Regions from separate parts of the Homo sapiens genome. Here region 1 is linked to region 2. The links are contacts of gene promoters, found by promoter capture Hi-C in human tissues and cell types (Jung and others, 2019). All regions are on one chromosome and are shown on one strand. Each heading gives the region's core, a stretch centred on a gene start or on the middle of the fragment in contact. The rest is flanking DNA. Distances are from core to core; before and after follow the strand shown. Region 1 has its middle 39 kb from the start of HINT1. Region 2 holds the start of CHSY3 (chondroitin sulfate synthase 3).

What was found. Contacts are between HindIII fragments. The study calls those that stand out against the background at their distance.
Region 1: a fragment that was not itself captured here is called in contact with the fragment with the promoter of CHSY3 in region 2 in 1 of the 25 tissues and cell types used here (dorsolateral prefrontal cortex).

What each region holds. Positions count from the first base shown.
Region 1 is chr5:131,124,767-131,128,309 of GRCh38, reverse strand. No RefSeq gene overlaps it. Among named protein-coding and RNA genes, the nearest start is that of HINT1, 39 kb to the left of the region's middle. The HindIII fragment of the contact is 5,567 bases long and covers 1-3,543 here.
Region 2 is chr5:129,902,922-129,906,535 of GRCh38, reverse strand. CHSY3 (chondroitin sulfate synthase 3) reads right to left here and starts at 2,071. Exons shown (of 3, transcript NM_175856.5): 1 at 905-2,071. The coding sequence starts at 1,706. It overlaps CHSY3-AS1 (CHSY3 antisense RNA 1), which reads left to right and starts at 609. Exons shown (of 3, transcript XR_002956248.2): 1 at 609-694. RefSeq lists a silencer at 1,704-1,913. The HindIII fragment of the contact is 7,648 bases long and covers 1-3,614 here.

The sequences.
Region 1 (3,543 bases), core at 392-2,891, 1.2 Mb before region 2:
GGGTTTTTATGGTTTTAGGTCTAACATTTAAGTCTTTAATCCATCTTGAGTTAATTTTTGTATAAGGTGTAAGGAAGGCATCCAGTTTCAGCTTTCTACATATGGCTAGCCAGTTTTCCCAGCACAATTTATTAAATAGGGACTCCTTTCCCCATTTCTTGTTTTTGTCAGGTTTGTCAAAGATCAGATGGTTGAAGATGTGTGGTATTATTTCTGAGGGCTCTGTTCTGTTCTATTGGTAGAACACTACCATGCTGTTTTGGTTACTGAAGCCTTGTAGTATAGTTTGAAGTCAGATAGCATGATGCCTCCAGCTTTTTTTTTTTTTTTTTTTTTTTTTTAAAGAGTGAGCAGCAGCAAAATTTATTGCAAAGAGTGAAAGAACAAAGCTTCCACCATGTGGAAAAGGACCTGAGTGGGTTGCCCGCTTTGTTCTTTTTGCTTAGGATTGTCTTGGCAATGCGGGGTCTTTTTTGGTTCCATATGAATTTTGAAGTAGTTTTTTCCAATTCTGTGAAGAAAGTCATTGGTAGCTTGATGGGGATGGCATTGAATCTATACATTACCTTGGGCAGTATGGCCATTTTCACGATATTGATTCTTCCTATCCATGAGAATGGAATGTTCTTCCATTTGTTTGTGGCCTCTTTTATTTCGTTGAGCAGTTGTTTGTAGTTCTCCTTGAAGAGGTCCTTGAAGAGGTCCTTCACATCCCTTGTAAGTTGGATTCCTAGGTATTTTATTCTCTTTGAAGCAATTGTGAATGGGACTTTCAGGCATTTCTATACAGCCTCTGAAATCTAGGTGGTGGTTACCAAACCTCAATTCTTGCCTTCTGTGTACCCGCAGGCTCAACGCCACATGCAATCTGTGAAGGTTTGGGGTTTGCACCTCTGAAGCCACAGCCCAAGCTCTATGTTGGCCCCTTTCAGCCATGGCTGGAGTGGCTGGGACACAGGGCACCAAGTCCCTATACTGCACTCAGCAGAGGGACCCTAGTCCTGGCCCACAGAAACCATTTTTAACTCCTAGGCCTCCAGGCCTGTGATGGGAAGGGCTGCTGTGAAGACCTCTGACATGCCCTGGAGATATTTTCCCCGTTGTCTTGGGGATGAACATTTGTCTTCTTGCTACTTATGCCAATTTCTGCAGCCAGCTTTAATTTCTCCTCAGAAAATGGGATTTTCTTATCTATCACATTATCAGGCTACAAATTTTCTGAACTTTTATGCTCTGCTTCCCTTATAAAACTGAATGCCTTTAACAGCACCCAAGTCACTTCTTGAATGCTTTGCTGCTTAGAAATTTCTTCTGCCAGATACCCTAAATCATTTCCCTCAAGTTGAAAGTCCCACAAATCTCTAGGGCAGGAGAAAAATGCCACCAGTCTCTTTCCTAAAACGTAACAAGTGTCGCCTTTGCTCCACTTCGCAAAAATTTCCTCATTTCCATCTGAGACCATCTTAGCCTGGACTTTATTGTCCATATCATTGTCGGCATTTTGGGCAAAGCCATTTGGGCAAAGGTATTAAAGGAACACACCTCAAAATTATAAGAGCCATATACAACAAACCCACAGCCAACATCATACTGAATGGGCAAAAGCTGGAAGCATTCGCCTTGAAAGCTGGCAAAAGGCAAGGCTGCCCTCTCTCACCACTCCTATTCAACACAGTATTGGAAGTCTCTAGGAAGTTCCAAACTTTGCCACATTTTTCTGTCTTCTTCTGAGCCCTCCAAGCTGTTCCAACCTCTGCCTGTTACCCAGTTCCAAAGTTGCTTCCACAGTTTCAGGTCTCTTTTCAGCAATGCTCCACCATAGTGGTAACAATTTACTGTATTATTTCATTTTCACACTGCTAATAAAGACATACCCAAGACTGGGCAATTGACATAAGAAAGATGTTTAATGGACTTATAGTTCTACATGGCTGGGGAGGCCTCACAATCATGGCAGAAGGTGAAAGCCATGTCTCACATGGCGGCAGCCAAGAGAAGAGACGGAAACTCCCATTTTTAAAACCATCAGCTCTCATGAGACTTATTCACGATCACGAAAACAGCACGGGAAAGATCCGCCCTCATGATTCAATTACCTCCGACTGGGTCCCTTCCACACACGTGGGAATTGTGGGAGTTACAATTCAAGATAAGATTTAGGTGGGGACACAGCCAAACCACATCAAGGTGTAAGGAAATGGTTCAGTTTCTATCTTCTGTATATGGATAGCCAGTTATCCCAGCACCATTTATTGAATAGGGAATCCTTTCCTAATTGCTTGTTTTTGTCAACTTTGTTGAAGATCTAATAGTTGTAGGTGGGTGGTCTTATTTCTGGGCTCTTTGTTCTGTTCCATTGGTCCATGTGTCCGTTTTTGTACCAGTACCATGCTGTTTTGGTTACTATAGTGTGTAATATAGTTTAAAGTTGGGTAGCATGATGCCTCCAGCTTTGTTCTTTTTGCTTAGGATTGCCTTGGCTATTTGGACCCTTTTTTAGTTCCATATGAATTTTGAAATGGTTTTTCTGTGAAGAATATCAGTGGTAGTTTAATAGGAATAGCATCGAATCTATAAGTTGCTTTAGGTAATATGGCTATTTTAACAATATTGATTCTTCCTATCCATGAGCATGACATTTTTTCCATTTGTTTGTGTCATCACTGATTTCTTTGAGCAGTGGTTTGTAGTTCTGCTTGTAGAGATCTTTCACTTCCCTAGTTAGCTGTATTCCTAGGTATTTTATTCTTTTTGTAGCAATTGTGAATGGGAGTTCATTCATGATTTGGCTCTTGGTTTGACTGTTGTTTGTATATAGGAATGCTAGTGATTTTTGCACATTGATTTTTGCATCCTGAGACTTTGCTGAAGTTGTTTATCAGCTTGAGGAGGTTTTGGGCTGAGACTATGGGGTTTTCTAGATATACGATCATGTCATCTGCAAACGAGGATAGCTTGACTTCCTCTCTTCTTATTTGGATGCCTTTATTTCTTTCTCTTGCCTGATTGCCCCAGCCAGGACTTCCAATGCTATGTTGAATAGGAGTGGTGAGAGAGGGCATCCTTGCCTTGTGCCAGCTTCAAGGTGAATGCTTCCAGCTTTTGCCCATTCAGTATGATGTTGGCTGTGGGTTTGTTGTATATGGCTCTTATTATTTTGAGGTGTGTTCCTTTAATACCTAGTTTATTGAGAATTGTTTTTAACATGAAGGGATGTTGACTTTTATTAAAGGCCTTTTCTGCATCCATTGAGATAATTGTGGTTTTTGTCTTTACTTCTGTTTATGTGATGAATCACATTTATTGTTGAACCAGCCTTGCATCCCAGGGATACAGCCTACTTGATTGTGGTGGATAAGCTTTTTGATGAGCCTAGTATATTTGACCATTTATTCAAAATAGATTTATTTTGATATTCTCACCACTTATTCTACCAATGTGTTATATCACCTTAGGGAATAGACAATGCTTCCTGTGGCCAGATGCAGTGGCTCATGCCTGTAATCCAAGCACTTTGGGAGGCCTAGGCAGGTGGATCATTTG
Region 2 (3,614 bases), core at 822-3,321:
AAAAAAAGTTTTTTCTTGCTGTGGCTGCCTGTGGTTCTGGGAAGGACTTCCAGCCTCTGCTTATCACCGCGGCCAACAAAATGCACTGGAAAGGAACCAATACTAGTGTGTGCTAGTACAGTCTGCTGTTCCCAGGGGTCTGGCTTATTAGCGGGTGCTTTCCTCTTTTCCCCCACCACCAATTCCTTACAACATGCCCATCCTCTCAGGGTTTTATTGAGGTGTGGCGGGGGGATGGGGGACGGCTTGGTGCTGAACTGTAGCGGCTGGAAGGAGCAGCGCGCTGGCACGGTGGGGATGGCCAAGGACTCCCAGTATGTGGAGAGTTGAGCCAAAGGGAAGGGAACACATAGGAAAGGGTCCGGGACAGCGAAGACGATTCCTCAATCTGAGCAGTTCCAAAAGTGCGCTAGATCCAGTTTAAACAAAAGAGCAAGATCCAAAGCCAGAACACTGGATCTCCAGACTAGTTGTAGCTAGCATCCTCCGTCTTCCCTTCCTGAAGACCACGCCCCTCTGGACCGATTGGGGAAACTACCATCAGCAGGGGCTTTCAGAGGAGGGCAGAGTGGGAATGGCCTTTGGTTTAGCTCTAAGGTTCCTTTTCTAACCTCTCCGACGAGGTAAAGACTAAGGGACAAGCGCGAGGCGGCACCGAAAACAGCAAGTGAGGAAGGCGAATAAAGCCAGGCAGGTGTGAGGAGGGTCCAGATTGCAGAAGACGAGGAACGGGCTACGAATTGTGGGCGGATGCAAGGGGTGGGGAGGGCGGGCCAGGGCCTGTGGGAGCCCGAAGCACGTGCTGGCAGAGAAGCAGCGGAGGGGCTGGGCAGGGGCTAGGACCGGTTACAGAGAAAGGAGTCGGGGAGACTGGCAGGCTGGAAAGCCGGCGCAGGGAGGTCACCTTTGATGTAGACATCGTCGTCGGCGCGCATGAACCACTCATACTTGTCCAGGTAGTGGTCGTGCATGTACTTGATCATCATGAAGGACTTTTTCTGGGGAGGATAGGAGTCGTCCACACCCGGTAGCGCGATGACAGGCAGGGGTGGCGGGGGCTGGCCGGCGTTGGGGGGCTGCTGGCTGGAAAAGAACTCCACGCGGCCCGGGATGAAACGCGCCCAGGTCCGCTGCGCGGCCAGCGCGCGGCTGCCCAGGTACTTCTGCGCGGTCATCACCCCCACGTACAGGAAGTCCCGGGGTCGGGCGCTCGGGGCGGCAGCGCCCCCGTCCCCGCTGCCGTTGTGGCTACTCCCCGGCCGGCCGTCTCTCCGCTGCCCAGCCGCGCCCCCGTCCTCCTCCTCGGGCTCCCCCTCGGCCGCTGGAGCACCGGGAAGCCCCGTCGCGCCCTCAGGCTCGCGTCCTCGCCGCCGCTGCTGCAGCGGAGGTGGCTGCTGCCAGGGGCTGCTTCGAAAACTGGTGATCCCGGGTGCTGCCTCGGGCAGCGGTGGCCCCTGGAGATCCTGGCGCGCGGGGGGCGGCGACTGCTCCTGCCGTGGTCGGGACTGGGGCTGGGGGAGCGGCTGCTGAGCGCCGGCGCGGGGGCCAGCAGCAGAGCGACCGTAGTAGGAGCAGAGGCTGGAGCCACGTCTCTTCCTCTCGCTCAGCTCCGCCACCCTGGGGGCGATGAGCCAGGACGCGGCGGTGAAGCCCAGCACCAGCCCTAATGCCACGCTCATCCACGGGCGGCGAGAGCGCACAGCCATCGCGGCTGTCCCGGGCGCGGACGCTCGCTGGGCTGTCGCGGCGCGGCACGCGGTTTCCCCGGCTCACACCCGCCCCTCCTCCGCCTTTGCGCCCCCAGCCGCGGCCGCAGCCGGCCGCCTAGGCGCCGACACCGGCTGGAGGTCGAAGCGCCGCGGACGCCTCGACTGCCGCGGGCTGCAGCTGCCTGCCGGGCTCCCGCTCAGCTCTGGGCCGGGGCTCCGAGCAAGGGTCGGGAGTGAAACTTCTCCCGGCGGCGGCGGTGGCGGCAGCGGCGGCAGCAGCGGCAGCTGGAGGAGCTGCAGGAGGAGGAGGAGGAGCAGCGGCGGCGGCAACGCGTCCGCTCCTAGGCTGCCACCCTGTCAGTGGCGCGCCTGGGCCCTCCCTCCTCCCTCCTTCCCGAGCCCCCGCCCTCACTCCCGCCTCCCGCTCCCCCCGCCGCCGGGCTCCGAGCTGGCCCGGAGGAGGAGCCGCAGGCGGCACCGCTGCCAGCCGGAGAGAAGCGCGGGCCGCGGTATTTCCCCGTCACCCGCCCTTGGACGCCCCCCGTCCGCGCCTCAGTCCAGAGCCGGCCTCCTCTCCGGAAGGAAACGATCCCTGTCGGGCCGCCTCCGGCTTGCAGCGCCGACGCCCCCTCTTCCCTCCTCCCCCAGCTCTTGCTCTTCGTCCCATTTCCCGTCCCGTCCCGCCCCTCCGCTGGCCTCCCGACACTCGTGTCTGGGGGCTCTACTGGCCTCCTCCCGGCGCCTAGGCTCCGCTGACCTCATCGGCGGAGCTCGGGTCCGGGAGCCCCCAGCAAGTTCGTTGCTGTCCCACCGTGCTCTCCTCCCCCGGCCCACAGCCGGGTACGTCCTGGCGTGACCCTTACCACTCTGCCCCGCCCCAGGTCCGCCAGGGCGCCACTCTTCGCGTTTTCCGTCCTTTCCACGTTGTTCTTACCGCTGCCACTCCGCGCCTTCTCTCTCTAGTCGGTCACTTGTCAGGAAACCAAACGTCCCATCCCAGCACCTCTCCTCCCAGCCTAACTTCCCTCCTACCTGCATCGTCCACCAGCTCTCCTCAGTCCTTCACAGAAGCACCATTGTCGTTAGGGTCTCTCCTAAGAAAATCTCTGAGGGATTGGAAATACTTATCCTGAAAGGCTAAGGGAGTTGGTGGTGTGTGGGGGTTCAATCCCCAAAGAACGTAAAAATCCCATGTCCTCCACCTGTTGAGTTGGAAAATGTGGGGCTGCCTAATGGTCTCCCCCTCGGCTCTCCTGATGATATCTGTTCAAGAAATGAGAACTATGGTCTATTTTCAGTCTTGGTAGAAGATTGGCTCAGTGGGACTGGCAAATAGTGGAGAAATGGGCACACATTCACAGGGCCAATACCCTGAAGATCCAAACGAAAGAAATTCTTACCCCCACAAAATAAGTGAACTTAATCAAAAAATAAAATGGAGGATATGATTTTTATTCTTGCCTATGAACCGTTTTATTTTCTAAGGCAAAGACAGGAAAATTTTACCTCTCCAATGAGGGAGGAAAATTGTCCAGCAACAGAATCTCAAAAAAAGTTAAGCTGTATTGGCCAAAATCATTGTGCCTTAGTTACGTTAGGAAGAAATTACCTGAAGGTATATGATTTTTGAAGAAGGGAGCATTAACAAATTTCTCTCTAAAGGTTGTGCATAAAGCTATAGTCTGGGGTGCATTTGGCATCCCAAGTACTTCCTTCTCTTCAAATTTCAGTCTTCTGTTTTAGACATCAAACGCAAAGGGATGGTATTGAATGGCATTAGACATAATGGCTCGATCCAGCGAGGTGCTGGCAGCGTCCCTGGAACACTAGGCCTGCCTGGAGCCTTTGGAGGAATGGTTCTTTCCACACCGGTCCCTGGCTGTGCATGAGCACGTCTGACTAAAT